3 separate regions of the Homo sapiens genome follow, and regions 1 and 3 are each linked to region 2. The links are contacts of gene promoters, found by promoter capture Hi-C in blood cells and fetal thymus (Javierre and others, 2016). All regions are on one chromosome and are shown on one strand. The core of a region is centred on a gene start or on the middle of the fragment in contact, and the rest is flanking DNA. Distances in the headings are between cores, read along the strand shown.

Evidence for each region. Contacts are between HindIII fragments. The CHiCAGO score rates a contact against its expected background, and 5 or more counts as called.
Region 1: a fragment that was not itself captured here is called in contact with the fragment with the promoter of LRRC41 in region 2 in 1 of 17 cell types (total B cells); the score reaches 5.4 in total B cells.
Region 3: a contact is called between a fragment that was not itself captured here and the fragment with the promoter of LRRC41 in region 2, in 1 of 17 cell types (neutrophils). The highest score is 5.1, in neutrophils.

The regions. Positions count from the first base shown.
Region 1 is chr1:46,038,627-46,043,516 of GRCh38, reverse strand. It overlaps P3R3URF-PIK3R3 (P3R3URF-PIK3R3 readthrough), which reads left to right. Exons shown (of 10, transcript NM_001303427.2): 10 at 1-3,377. It overlaps PIK3R3 (phosphoinositide-3-kinase regulatory subunit 3), which reads left to right. Exons shown (of 10, transcript NM_003629.4): 10 at 1-3,377. Among named protein-coding and RNA genes, the nearest start is that of PIK3R3, 92 kb to the left of the region's middle. RefSeq lists an enhancer at 1-471. The HindIII fragment of the contact is 1,414 bases long and covers 1,166-2,579 here.
Region 2 is chr1:46,300,366-46,305,362 of GRCh38, reverse strand. It overlaps LRRC41 (leucine rich repeat containing 41), which reads left to right and starts at 1,747. Exons shown (of 10, transcript NM_006369.5): 1 at 1,747-2,239. The coding sequence starts at 2,041. It overlaps UQCRH (ubiquinol-cytochrome c reductase hinge protein), which reads right to left and starts at 1,665. Exons shown (of 4, transcript NM_006004.4): 1 at 1,543-1,665. The coding sequence starts at 1,596. RefSeq lists enhancers at 911-1,492, 1,493-2,076, 1,812-2,211, 3,632-3,751, 3,242-3,824 and 1 more and silencers at 2,202-2,261, 2,312-2,361, 2,392-2,541, 2,892-2,961, 2,992-3,541. The HindIII fragment of the contact is 7,686 bases long and covers 1-4,997 here.
Region 3 is chr1:46,601,009-46,605,445 of GRCh38, reverse strand. It overlaps MKNK1 (MAPK interacting serine/threonine kinase 1), which reads left to right and starts at 1,178. Exons shown (of 13, transcript NM_001135553.4): 1 at 1,178-1,261. RefSeq lists a silencer at 997-1,216 and enhancers at 1,547-1,596, 1,364-1,864. The HindIII fragment of the contact is 3,112 bases long and covers 344-3,455 here.

The sequences.
Region 1 (4,890 bases), core at 623-3,122, 260 kb after region 2:
GGGGGCATTAGAGGCCTGAGGTTCTCTAGGACTCAGCCATGCCGCTGCACTGACATACTAAGCTGGAAGCAGATGTTTTTTTTGAAAGTCTGTTTCATTGGGGTTTTTGTTTTGTTTAGCCAGACACCCTCAACAGAATATTAGGCTTGATGGTTATAGCGGGTGGGGTTGTATTTGGAAGCCTCTGAAGAGACCATGTCTTTTTAAAATCTAACTCTTGAGAGTGCAGCAGGGGCATGGCTCTGCTGGGAGTTGTGTTTTGCTTTGGCAGTCTCTCTTCCCCCCACGAAGAAGGCTGTTTAGGTTTTGTGATAGAATGGGATTTGATGAAAAAGACAACCAAAGGAAAATGGGGAGGCTTGGGATTTCATTTAAATAATCTAAGCCAAGATGATAAAAAAAACCTTCAACTGAAGGTATTTTGTTTCTTACCAACATAATTTAGGCTTCAGCATCTCACCAGCCCCTCCCTCTGAAGAAGTATTATGTTCAGAAGCCAACAAAACAGTTTGTTGCCAGACCAATGTTTGATGGGAAAACGTGGCACTCATAGTTGAATGTATACTTCTGTACCAAAACTTGAACATAAAAAGACTAGAATTTGTGAGTTTTAGCAAACGCTAAAATTGATCACTGTAACTAACCCCTTCTGTCCTTCCTGCCTGTTTCTCTGAGATGAGGAATAGCATTCTTTTTGTGGGGATGGTGAGCTTTGAATCATAAAATGAAGTTGGTGCTTGTATGGTGTTTCCTTAGCCTAAAGAATGATCTGTTGTTTGAAACCTTTGTAACTTGTTTGTATGAGTAAAGAAAAGGTGCAATGCAGTGCTTTTAGATGGCTTGATATACCAAATAACAATATAGAACAACATTATTATATGTGCTTCCCCAAGTTTAAAGGCCCTGCAGAAATAGTAAACATGGTTTAATTTCCCTTCATTTCCCCCTCCTTTGCTGGATGGGGTTTTGGGAGCTATAGGTTGCTAAGGAGGGGAGTCAGATTGTGGTCAGGTGCCTCAGTAAATCACAGACCCAGGGGCCCTGTGGTCCAGGGTGAGAGTCACACCACATTACACATGTGCTTCCATACAGTGGTTTCTGAAGCTTTTGCAGGGAGAGAAGATGGCTTAGTGTTTAGACTGTTAGTAGAAGCCATCTGGAAGCTTTTCTCTTTGCCTTTTTTTGTGATCCTGCCATTAAGGCTATGTGCAGTCTGCCCTCCTGCTCCAGTGGCCTTGATTTTAGGCCAGGAATCTTCTGCTCCATGTGGCTTAAGCCTTCCAGCTGAGTGAAGCTAGGCAAATGGAGTGGGGGCAGGCATCTATTCCTGCCCCCATCATGCCCCACACCCATCAGTCAACACTCATTTGACAAATAGAGTCCAGCTGCCTCTGAGCCAATCCTGGGACCATAATAGGCTCAGAGTGAGTCAGCTGTTTGAACCCAAAGCTGTGCAGTCAGGCACCCTGGCTGAGCTAGAGAAGCCAGTACCTGCATCTTGGTTTATAAGGCTTACAGCTAGGAAAGCTCTAGTTCTGGGGGTGAAAGAAAAATATTAGTTTACCTGAGCACTTATTTCCATGACAGGGTCTAAAATATGGACCATGATGTAGACACAGATTTTTAATTTTGGAAAAACCTCCAGTTACTAGTGACGAGGATAGAAAGGGAAGTGCTTCTCTTTGGCTTTTTCTTGGTTACACTGCAGTTTCAGGATTGGGTGAGACAGAGACAAATGAACCCCCCTCTAAAGTCATTTAACTAATAGCCAGCACATCCCTTCCCCAAACTGTCAATTGAAATCTTAACTGAAAGTTTTACTGAATAATACCAAGCTAATTGCTGTTGGGCACACCTGGATGGCTTTGCACCTGGTGTTGAACCTGCTGAAGCAGGTGGATGCTCAAGATTACGTGCAAGGAATCCCTCCCATCTGGTACTAAAATTTCAGTGTGTTCTGAGTGTCTTTTAAACCAAAATGGAAATACAGATACAGGGCTGTAGTATTCAGTAATGTGTCTGCTCCTTGTTGGGCAGACACCAGCGGTGTGCAGGGAGAGACCAAGTACCATCTTTATCTACACTTGGGCTGGCTTGTGGAGAAGGGCTGCTTTTTTTCAGTCCTACATTCCTTCATTTTTTTTTTCATTCTTGAATTCATTGTTTTGTGGGATCTAAGACCCAGGGGTCATTTGAGAGGTTTGACAGTATCTTTTCTGACCAGTTGCCACATGACTTGCTTGACCCTGAGCCTGTGGAAATGGCATAGGGACCAGTCTACTACCCACTGGGCCTGGTGTGTAGAGGGGGAGAGGGTAGCAAGGTGCTTCTCTACGCCCATGACTTGGGAGCAGGTCTTGGCCTCCTTCATGAGAGTCTAGTGCCATGTCCTGTCCCATGATCTGGACCCTGGGACTGTCTTGGCATCTTAACTGCAGTTTCAATGAGGCAGAGGGCAAAGAGAGACCAAGATCAGAGGGGTTCATTATACCCCTGGCTAGAGAACCCAGCTACTGACATGCAAGCAGCTTGGGGCTGGCTGGACACAGGTACTAGGCCCATTGTTTCCAGGTGAAGCTTTCATCACAGAACAGTGTTGTCTCCACCTGGCCTTAGATGGCACGCCATGATTCGGGCCTGGATAGACTGCCTGCGTCCTTACCACTGATCTGGCCAAGAATGAGGCCCTCCCAACACTTTCACTCCCTCTCCAAGCCTTGATGGGACCTCCACTTATTTAGGCCTCATGTGCTTTGAAGAAGCTTTGAGAGCCAATGTGTCTTCCACGGGTCTCTTTTTTGCTACAAGTAATCAGCCCCATGTGTTCTCTTAAACTGAGAATTGCACCTGGGCAATTCCTGTTTTCTAAGGTGGTCTCTGCTGCTATTTAACAACCCAGAGTAGGCCTCTGTGAGGCTTCAGTGGCCTCAGAAACCAGAGGGTCCAGATAGGGGGCCTGCTTGGGCCCTCTGCTGCCAACTGCTCAAACCTGCTTTAGCTCCAGCCACTTGTGGCAAACAACCTCGTTTCCTTACAAATTCCAGCATGTGACTTTGGTGCCGTTACTTGTGAAAAATCTATTCTGTTGTCTTTGATGTGTCCAAGAAAATTCGTGTAGTTTACGTAAAAATATCTGACTCACAAGAAAGCCAACTGTATGTCTTGTGATGGGACAGTTCATAATGTAGTTGCTAGACCACTTTACAAATTGTTCTTGTCACCAGATGTGTTCAGACATTGCTGTGCAATTGTTGGGGAGGGTAGGGGGAAAGGCGAGAGGAGATACTTATTGGTCTTTTTGTTTAATACCTTCCCCAAGAGGGGACAGTCTGGCCAACTTGCTCCAGTAATGCAATAAAGACATTGCAATAAAGTAATTTTTTGTCTTCATGCTATGAAGGGGTGGGCTGGGGGCAGAGTGGGGGTCAAGAGAGAAGAGTACTCAGGTGTTGAACAGCCCTTGAAACTTCCAAACCTTCTCTCCAGTAAGCACCAAAAGACTAGTACTGGGGCAGCCAGAGGCTCTTTTCTTCCTAGGGGAGGACATTGACTCCAACTAGGCATGATGCCAGAGTCCTGTCCACCGAACACAGACACAGAAGTCTTAGATACTGACTCTGAGAAAATTAAAACTGAATGCCATTTCCTCCACACCTCACTGCCCACTCCTAATAAGCTGTTTATTGGTTCTCATATTTCTGCCCAGAATGAAGTGTTTCCACATTCTACTCTGGGGGAGGGGGAAATGGGCCCAGCTTTATAATCTATCCTCTTATTGCCCCAGGCCCTTGTCATCTCCTGCCAAGGCACACTGTTGAGCTTCCTGTATTCTGGGAACGTAATGAGCCAACATGCGATAACCTCTTGTTGCATAGGATATTGCAGCGCTCATCCATGTCTCAGGCCCCACCCATGTGTACTCAATTATAAATAAGTCAGATTGGGCAGGGAACAGCCTGTTGTTCTAAGTGACCTTGCCTATGTCTTTTCTCCCCACTACACTTTAGCTACACAGCATCCCAAGACCACTGCCAGGAACTATGGATTTCTCCTAATCCCAGAGTTGTTCGCACTTCTGTGTTTAGGATGCTCAAATTCCTAGCTCCTTCCCAGTTCTTTCTTCTGAACTCTACCCGCTGGCTGGATGTTTCCACTGGGCTCCTGGGTATCTCACCGACACTTCAAACTTGTTTACTTGGGGCTGGGCGTGGTGGCTCATGCCTGTAATCCCAGCACTTTGGGAGGCCGAGGCGGGTGGATCACCTGAGGTCAGGAGTTCGAGAACAGCCTGGCCAACGTGGTGAAACCCCGTCTCTACTAAAAGTACAAAAATTAGCTGGGCGTGGTAGCATGCACCTGTAATCCCAGCTACTCGGGAGGCTGAGGCATGAGAATTGCTTGAACCTGGGATGCAGGGGTTGCAGTGAGCTGAGGCCGTGCCACTGCACTCCAGCCTGGGCAACAGAGCGAAACTCTGTCTCAAAAAAGCAAACTTGTTTACTTGTCAGAAAAAGTATGATTGGCTATGAATTTCCTCACCTTCCTACCACCAAACCTACAACCTTATCTATATCTACATAACTATTCTCCCTCCCATCTGTTAAATTACAATAGTCCCCTCCAACTAAAGTCAATCCTTCCACATGTATTTTGGAATCTATTTTCTTCCACCTCAGGAATCTCCCAAGATTAAGATCAATTCTTTCTCTACTTCAACTGGATCATTTCCACTGACACTTAAACATGGTTGGTTGGTTCTCATTCTACTCCCCTAATCCCTACTCAATCATCCCATATACCTTTATCTCTTTTCTCCTCTTCAAAGCCAAGCCTTTGGAAAGAACTGTCTTAAATTTCCTTATTTCCCCATCTCAAATATTTCAGTACTGG
Region 2 (4,997 bases), core at 498-2,997:
CTTGCTGACCTTTCTGAGGCAGGCTCCATTTCTTTCTTTAGTTTTTTTTTTTTTTTTTTTTTTTGAGACAGGGTCTCACTCGGGTTGCCTCGGCTGGAGTGCAGTGACACGATCACGGCTCACTGCAGCCTGGACTTCCTGGGCTCAAACTCCCGAGCAGTTGAGACCACAGGCGTTCACCACCATGCCCGGCTAATTTTTATATTTTTTGTAGAGACGGGGTTTCGCCACGTTGCCCAGGCTGGTCCAACTCCTGGACTCATGCTACCTGTCTGCCTCGGCCGTCCTCCTAAAGTGTTGGGATTACAGGCGTGAGCCACTGCGCCCGGCCTCAGGTTCTATTTCTTTTTAGAAATAATAAGACTAGAAAAATTAAGGGATAAATAAGTCTCCAATTATTCTGAACCCACAGCCCAGAATGGCTGCCCCCAAGTGACCAGAGAACAGACGGACAGGAAATGAGATTAGAAACAACTAGTAGCTGTGTCGCAAAATTGATAAGAGTCCTGGTTCTAGAACCGCGCTGCTTGGCCGCAATTCCTGGCTGCACCAATTTGGTAGCTGCATGACCTTAGAAAAGATATTTAACCTCTATGCTTGTTTCCTCATCTGTAAAAATGGCACTAATAGTACCCAACACTTACTTCATAGGAATAGTGTGTAGATGAAATGAATTAGGGCCGGGCGCGGTGGCTCACGCCTGTAATCCCAGGACTTTGGGAGGCCGGGGTGGGCGGATCACTAGGTCAGGAGTTCGAGATCAGCCTGGCCAACAGAGTGAAACCCCCGTCGCTACTAAAAACACAAAAATTAGCCAGGCGTGGTGGCGGACACCTGTAGTCCCAGCTACCTGGGAGGCTGAGGCAGGAGAATCGCTTGAACCCAGGAGGCGGAGGTTGCAGCGAGCCGAGACCACGCCACTGCACTCCAGCCTGGGCGACAGAGCGAGATTCCATCTCAAAAAAAAAAAAAAAATTAATTAGTGCATATAAAGCACTTGGAATAGCAAGCAGTCAATAATTATAGCAGCACTCTTTCTCTGGGAAAGAGCTCCCTCTTCCATCACAGAATCACATCGTACATTCTTTCATTGTCCCCAAAGACACACACCTTCCTCAAAGAAAAGGAACACAAGGCCAGGTCTTCCGAACCTCCATAGAAGATGTGGTAGGGATTCCTAACCTGAGCTGGGGCAAGGCGGTCTGTTTGCTCCCCAAATCTGTGAAACGCGGGCTTCAGAACATCTGACTGACTGCAAACATAGGTCATATTTTTACAAGACTTTAGTCCACAAAACATTTTCGCTCTCAAACCTTCACTACATTCACAGAATGCAGAAGCCGAGGCCCAGAGAAAAACTAGTCATCTATCTGTCCAAAGTCACCGGACGAATTCTGGGGAAAGGTCGAGGGAACTAGAGCTCCCGACTATGCAAACCCTAGAGGGTAAACTGGGGGCTAAGAGGGCCCCGTGCGTGTTTTGGCGGGCTAGGTCCTGGGCTTCAGGGCAGAGAAGAGGGCCGAGTGGATCGCCTTGCCTTACCTCCTCAGGATCTCCGGATTCGGTAAGCATCTTTTGCTCGTCCTCCAGTCCCATGTCTGGCTACGGTTCTAGATTCAACACGAGCAGCAACAGCGGCACCTAACCCAGTTCAGGATCAAGAAGGACTTGTAAGGGTCACTCAGCGGAAATCCGGCGATCTGGCCGGAAGTGCGGCACACTCATCGTGGTCGCGAACACATGCTCAGATTGGCATGTACTACCAGCCGCAGGCAGAGGTTAGGGGTAGCTGATGTTTGCACCCGAGGAGGCTTTGCTAAGAAACATCCCCTTAGTCATACCACACCCAAGTATAATTGATCTAGGAGTTTATCTAAAATAGTAGCTCCTAAGAGACTTGGAAAGTGTGCTAATTTCTTCGAAATTTCTTTAGAATAATTCACATTCTTCCCCATATCGCTTATGGAGCCGTCCTAACTGCTGACCTTTTCAAGATGGCGGTCCGCGGGCGACACTCTCGGGCTCGCGCACCTCCCCAAGATGGCGGCGCCCGAGGCCTGGCGCGCCCGGAGTTGCTGGTTCTGTGAGGTAGCGGCGGCAACGACCATGGAGGCCACGTCCCGGGAGGCGGCGCCAGCGAAGAGCTCGGCCTCGGGCCCCAACGCTCCCCCCGCCCTGTTCGAGCTGTGCGGGCGGGCGGTGAGCGCCCATATGGGGGTTCTGGAGAGCGGGGTGTGGGGTAAGTCGCGGGGTGAGGGGCTACCTCTGGCTAAGAGCAAGGGGCGGCCCAGCGGCCGGGGGGCGCGGGGGGCGAGGCCGGGAGGCCCGGGGCAAGGCCCAGCCTGGGGCGCTGAAAGCCAGCTCGTAGGATCGGAGAATGAATTTTGTGACTGACAGGGCTGGACAGAGTAAAGACGGAGACCTAAATGGGCAGGCTGACCCGCACCGCGGCCTGGCTCGGGGGCGCGGGGGGCGAGGCCAGGAGGCCCGGTCTGGAGCGAAGCAGGCTGGGCCCGGGCGACTGAGGCTGGATTGCGGCTGTGGGCCGCGCGAACTGACACTCGGCTGGGCCGGGCAGGAGAGTCTCGGATGTCGAACCGGTGGGCAGCGATGGCCCGGCTGCCCTAGGGCAGGGGCCGAGGTTAGGAGGCCCGGCCTAAGGCAAGGCCAGGCCAGGCCCGGGGCCACCGAACCTGACTGATGGCCCCGGGGCTCCAGCATCTGCCTGACACGCCACGGGGGTCGAGATTCCGGAGGCCAAGCCGATGGGCGGAGGGGAGGACAGCAGATTGGAGAGCGAGGGAATGGGGCAGGGGGAGAGGCCGAACGAAAGGGTCGGGGCGCCGCGGCCTGTCTGACGGCCCAGGGCTGACGGGAGCGAACCGACAACCGGGGTCTCGGGTGCCAAACTGACTAAGCGACCGAGCGACCGTGCGACCCGCAGGACAGGGAGCGCCGGAGGCCACTCGGATCGGCTCGAGCGGCGAGGAGGGACCGGAGAGCGAGTGGAGGGGGGCCCGGAGCGGCTTAAACAAGCGAGGGAGGCTCGAATGACGGACAGGCGGGAAGGGCCAAGGAGGCCCCAAGCGGGGCGACGGCCCGGGGATCCCGGACTGCCGGGCTGCCGTGGCAGGGGGCGCGGCGCCGCCAAGAGGCCTTGGGCTGAATGGGAGTGAACGGGGGCCCCAGGCCTGAAGGCGGCCGGGACCAAAGGGCCGGGCCTGGATGGAGGGCGGCCTGGGGCGCCGGGATGAACGGCCGGGGAGGGCGAACCGGCCAGTTGGGCTGGGAGGCGGGGCTGTGGGTTGGGGACCGCTGGCCGCGGCCTGGCCGCTGACGAGGGAAACTTGGGTCCGACGTGGGGCAAGTGAAAGAGGGGAAAGTGAGGCTCTGCCAAGCAGGCCTAGCCGCGCTGGGGACAGGGGAGGCCTCGGGCCTGAGAGGCTGCTGGCTCTGTGAGGGTGGGGTCGGGAGGCCGGGGTTGGAGTTGGGCGAAGAGGTGGCAGGCCCGGCCGAGGCCTGCTGGGGAGGGGGGCAGGAGAGCAGGCCCCGGGCCTGGAAGCGGCGCGGGGGAGGTTCCACCAGGAGGCCTTGCGGGTGGCCGTGGCGTCTTTGCAGGAGGAAGGCCCTGGTCAGGACAGGAGTGAGGACTTTGAGGACTCGAGGTTGCAGGGCGCGGAGTTTGAGTTATGCCATGAGGAGGGGGTGTGGGGAAAAGGCCCTGGAGTTTGGGGGGACTGAAGCTCCGGGATAAGCTGGAGGGTGGTCGGGGAGGCCCTTGGCTGTGGGAGTGGAGCCCAGTACCATGAGGCCTGAGTGTCCTGCATAGTGGTGGTGGAAGAGGCTTTTAGAAGTCGGCCGGTGTGCGGAGGGGACAGTGGAGGCCCCAGGCCAGCCAGCGGCTGAGAAGACAAGGGGCAGGCCGACCCATGGGGAACAGGAGGAAAGGCTCCGTAGAGCTGAGCAGGGAGCTCAGAAAAGTCCTAGGGCATGGGGAAGAAGGCAGAGAGGGTCTGGCTTTTCCGCCTGGAGCTTCTGGGATGCTAAGACTGGCTAAAAAGGAAGATGACTGGGTGCGGAGGCCCAGGTTGGGAAGCAGCAGCATTAAAGGTGCAGGCTAGAAAGAAGCAAGGAAAATCCCGGCTTAAGAAGAATGGAGAAAGGAAGAGAGGAGTTTGTGGGTAACTGGGGATGAGAATTCCTGTGGCTGCAAGAAGAGATGGCTAACTAGAGGGGAGCAGGTTGGAGGGAAAAGGGGTAAGGCTCTGGAGGAACTTCTTCCCGTGTGGCCTCTTCCCCCTAAAACAATTGACAGTTTACTGAATCTCCCTTTCCCCTTCTCCCTCCCCTACCACTGCTGTACATACCACCATCCCATTACTGGCTGAGCCCCCAGCCAAGTTGAGAGGAGACAGGGGAGGAAGAGCTCCTGTGGGCCTAGACCAGAAAAAGCTGAATCAAGTGAGGCCTTTTAGGAGAATAGCCAAGGAAGAGGCCTGCTAAGCATTGCTATTTTAGAGGAAGGTCTGTGTGGGCTAACAGCCAGGAAAGGCTTCCTGGAGGTAGTGGACTAGCATCGCTTTGTGTAAGGAGTTGGGGCAGCGGGTGTATAGAGGCAGCAGGAAAGGGTACAATGAGGAAACTTTAAAATAAGGTATATTATACCTTGAATACCAGGATATGGAGTTTGGACTTTATCATGAATGCAGCAGAGAGACCTCCAAGGGTTTTGAAGAGGGTAGTGTCATCACCAAGAGCAGGATGAAGAGGGACTGGATGGAGACTGAAGTGAAGGAGAGCAGTTAGGCTGTTGTAATAGACCAGATGAAAGGTGATGTGGACTACATTCGTGTAAAAGCATAGGGAATTAACACTTTCATTCAGCCCGTACATCGAGGACCTACTATGTACAAATAATTATACTAGATTCTTGGATGTCAAGATTCAGTTATTCTGTAAGTAAAGATAAAAAGAGACCCTGGAGCGGAAGTTTTGGT
Region 3 (4,437 bases), core at 650-3,149, 300 kb before region 2:
AGCAAGCTGTGGAATATGTGGTGAAATAAGCCACAGTCATGACTAGAGCTCCACCTGCTTTGGGGGAGCCCTCCTTCCTCTGAGCACCCCCAGAGCCCTCAAAGATGTTAACTGAATTTGATTGCCATGTGAGGGACATAGCAACTTTGAGAACCTGGAACATAGGTCCTGAATCTCTTGGGCTATTGCCACAGGCAACAGGGAAGGGAACAGGCCAGCAGGGCCTCTGAAGACTTGAAGCTTGGATCGGCCTCCACGGAAGGTAATGAGTGGGAGAAGTCAGGATACATCGGGGCCCTCAGGTTGGACCGCAGGATTCCAGAAGGGAATGAACACAGAAGCTTGATCTTCCGCCTCTCCGGCCTTCACCCAGATTGGGAAATCTAGCAAAGTCCTGAATGTTCACTAATATTCCCAATCTCCTTCCATCATACAGATGAAAAGACAGCCCCGACAAGACAGGGAACAAATGTTTGTCAGGTGGATGATGGGAAGCAAGTCCCTGGGGCTCTTTAACTAGCTTGGCTTACCAAATCCTCACGATAATCCTGAGACAGGCAGGGAAGGGATGTTCACCTCCATCACTCGGAGTCAGCGCCTGAATTAAATCCCAGTCCACACTCTCATCCTTTCTCATCGCAGCTGCAGACTTGGGAAGGGGATGTGGGGAGACTGGTTGAGGCATTAACCTATTTACAGTTGTTTTTCCCCAAGAAATGAACTTTTAAAAGTTTTAAAAATTTTGAAATACTGGGGATAATGTTGTACTCAAGGAGAAACTCTTATGGTGAAATTCTAGGCACTCAGACTTTTAAAGAAATTGTACAGAATTGGCCCCCGTTTTAGAAAAGACTAGCAGCATTTCCCCACATATAAAAGGCATTTTAAAATTCCTTCCTGGCCTGCAGAAGCTCTCAGTACATGTTAATTACACCTGTCGCGCCCGGCCTCCTACCTTCCCGGGCTTCTCCACCCTCCATTCGGAAAAGAAAGCGCCGGAGGAGCTAAGCCCCACCCGCTTGCCAGCAATCTCCCCTCTCCCCGCCTCTTCCCTGTCACGCCTGCGCAGTTCGCTCAGCTCGAGCCCCCTGCCCTCAGGCGGCCCTGGGTAGCCATCAGGGCGCAGGCGCAGCTCCGCCCCCTCACCCTCCTCTCTGATCGGGCCCACCCCCTGGATCTAGCACCGCCTCTTCCGCGTTCTCGGAGGAGCGATCTGCAGGTAGGGGTGCGCGCGACCGCTCCCCGGCGGGAGCCAGCGAAGGTAAAAGCGAGACCTGCGAGGTATTCCTCCGAGCTAAATGGGGCCGGGGTCTGTGAGTGAGCTCGTGTGCCCGGAAGGGGGCAGTCAGGGCCTTCACGGCTGCCCGAGGTCACGACGCGATTCAGCTGCGGAGGGACAGCCTAAGGGGACGCTTTTCAGGACTGTCCCGAGCTGTCTGCGACCTCTGTGCCTGGGGTCGGGGCGTGGCCGGTGTCCGAGATGGCGCTTACTCTGTGGCCCGTTTGAGACTCAGTCTCTCCCAGGGATCAGGACCGAGGCTATGGCTGGGCGCAGGGCTCAGGCAGTCCAGTATCATGAATAGTTTTTCACGTGAGGAATTTGTGAAATCTGTGTACTGCGTTATTTTTAAGTTAATTGTTTTCATTTATTTTCAGTATTTAAAGGCTCCTGCCTGTGTGGATGGCTGTCCACAGGGAAAGGTAATAAGAGTGTCAGGTGCACCCTGTCTTCTAGAGAGCTCCAAGCTCCCTGACAGTGGCAGATCAGAGGCAGGCAGGCTCACAGGAATGAAGTGTTGTTAGAAGTGCTCAACTTCAGGGTCAGGGAGTCCTGGGTTTAGATCTCATCTCTTCCACCTCTTAGCTGTGTGTCCTGGGGCAAGTCTGCTTCCCCTCCCAGAGCTTCACTTTCTTCCCTAGGAAATGGCCATAATAGGGTCATTGTGAAGGGTGAATAGGATTATATGGAAGTCACCTAGTATGGCGCCTGTCATGTAATGGGTGCTGAATACATGGTAGCTGTGATTTCTAGGAGCTTGGTCATTTTGGATTGGGGTACTTTAGAAAGGCTCTGAGAGAAGAGTTGTTGTGACCTGGGCCTTGAAGCCTCAGTGGGATTTACAGATGGAACTGACCCTGCAGAATGGGAAGGGCACCACTGCCCATGCGCCAGGCACATGCTGGACAGTAGGTGTAATGTCTCACTGGATCACCACCCATCAGCCAGGTGCTTTCAGCCCACTCTCCTTAGCTTCAGCCCTTCATTAGAGGGCTGGGCTGGAAGTGATGTGAAGAGGAAATCCAGGGTTGGGTTTTATATGGAACTGAGCCAGCTAGAGGCTTTGGTGCCCCCTCTGCCCATCTGCTCCCACCTCAACACTTCTCTCTCTGTAATCCAGAGAGTTGGTTAGGAGTCCTGTTACTCTGGTATTTTGCAGATGTTGACAGTTGTGGGGGATGGCAACTCAGATTGCATGAAGCGAAGCCATGGGAGAGGGAAGCTCTGTGAACAGGAGCTGTCAGAGCCCAGCACGTGCTTAGAAAGTGCATGTGGTCTCCTGTAATGTGGTCCCAGAGTAATTGAATTACTTAGTTCCTTTTGCATCCTCTTCATGGGTGCCCTTGTGCTCTTCCTGAGACACTACTCGGAAACCTTGGTGGGCATCATTGCCTACTATATAGAGCAGTGGTGTCCAATCTTTTGGCTTCCCTGGGCCACATTGGAAGAAGAAGAACCATCTTGGGCCACACATAAAATACACTAACATTAACAATAGCTGATGAGCTTTAAAAAAATTGCAAAAAAATCTCAGTGTTTTAAGAACGTTTATGAATTTGTGTTGGACCACATTCAGAGCCATCCAGGGCCGCGGGTTGGACAAGCTGGATGTAGAGTTTGGACTCCAGCCTCAGACAAGTTCCTGCACAATTTGTTCCCACACCTCTCCCCTCCCTGTTTCCCTTGGTTTTCCCAAACCTGCAACCTGTGCTTCAGTCAAAATAAACTAGTTGTCTCTGTTTCTCCTTTTTTTTTGAGATGGAGTCTCACTTTGTCACCCAGGCTGGAGTGCAGTGGCACAATCTCGGCTCACTGCAACCTCCACTTCCCAGGTTCAAGTGATTCTCCTGCCTCAGCCTCCTGAGTAGCTGGAATTACAGGCATGAGCCACCACACCCGGCTAATTTTTGTATTTTTAGTAGAGACGGGGTTTCGCCATGTTGGCCAGGCTGGATTCAAACTTCTGACCTCAGGTGATCCGCCTGCCTGGGCCTCCCAAAGTGCTGGTACTACAGATGTGAGCCAACGTGCCCGGCCAAATCTCTGTTTCTCAAACACTCCCTGCATGTTCCTGCTCGAGCCTTTGCTTATATTCTCTCTTCCTGGATTTCCCTCCTCCTCCTCATCTTTCAAGGCTTACATCTCTTACATCTCATGTGGCCTCCATGGTGAAGCTTTTCTGAGCCTTCTGCTGGATTAGTTGTTCCCCTTTCCATCTTCTGTAGCAAAGGCTGACCCTCTAATATAGCTCTCATCATAGTCTGCCTAGGGATATGTACACTCCATATGTACTCTGAGTACGTGGGTGGCAAGGGACCATGTCTCTTTCCTTCCTCCTCTGTCCAGCATAGGGCCAGCACATAGTAGGCCTCTTCAGTGTTTGTGGTTAAGTGAGTCAGTGACATTTTTTATTTACTAGGTTTGGCCCTTGTTTTATGAGCTGTCAGGTTCAGAATGGGACTTTGTGTTTTTCCTCCTCTTTGTGCCTAAGGAGGGCCCCAGTTTAGACTGATGCCCTAATTACAGGCATCAAAAACAAGAAAGTACAAGAATTCTGCACAAGCAGGCATTCTTCATTGCAGCCATTGTTTTCAGGCTCTTGTCTTGCCTTGACCGTGAGTTTTGTTGGAAGGTAGGTAATGCTGTGTTCAGAGACCTGCACTGGGTGTATTAATAGTACAGTTCAAACAGGGGAAAGCTCACAGGTGGTTTTCTAATCAGTTTACTCTGCCCTTGGCCTTGGGAAACAGTGGTTCCTCCCATCTGGGGACCAGCAGCTATAAATGCACATTTTCCCTTGCCAACAGCCTCAGCATGTGGAAGAGAAAGTTATTTCTTGATCAGAGAAAAATTTACATGGTTGAAGGTAGAAGGAGCTTGGAAACCAACCATCTGGTTCCGCCACTTTCATTTTATAGATGGGGAAAGGACTTGATTGAGATTACACAAGGAGGCCGGTGTGTGGCTCACGCCTGTAATCCCAGCACTTTGGGAGGCCGAGGCAGGTGGATCACCTGAGGTCAGAAGTTCGAGACCAGCCTGACCAACATGGTGAAACCCCATCTCTACTAAAAATACAAAAATTAGCTGTGCATGGTGGTGGGTGCCTGTAATCCCAACTATTTGGGAGGCTGAGGCAGGAGAATCGCTTGAACCCA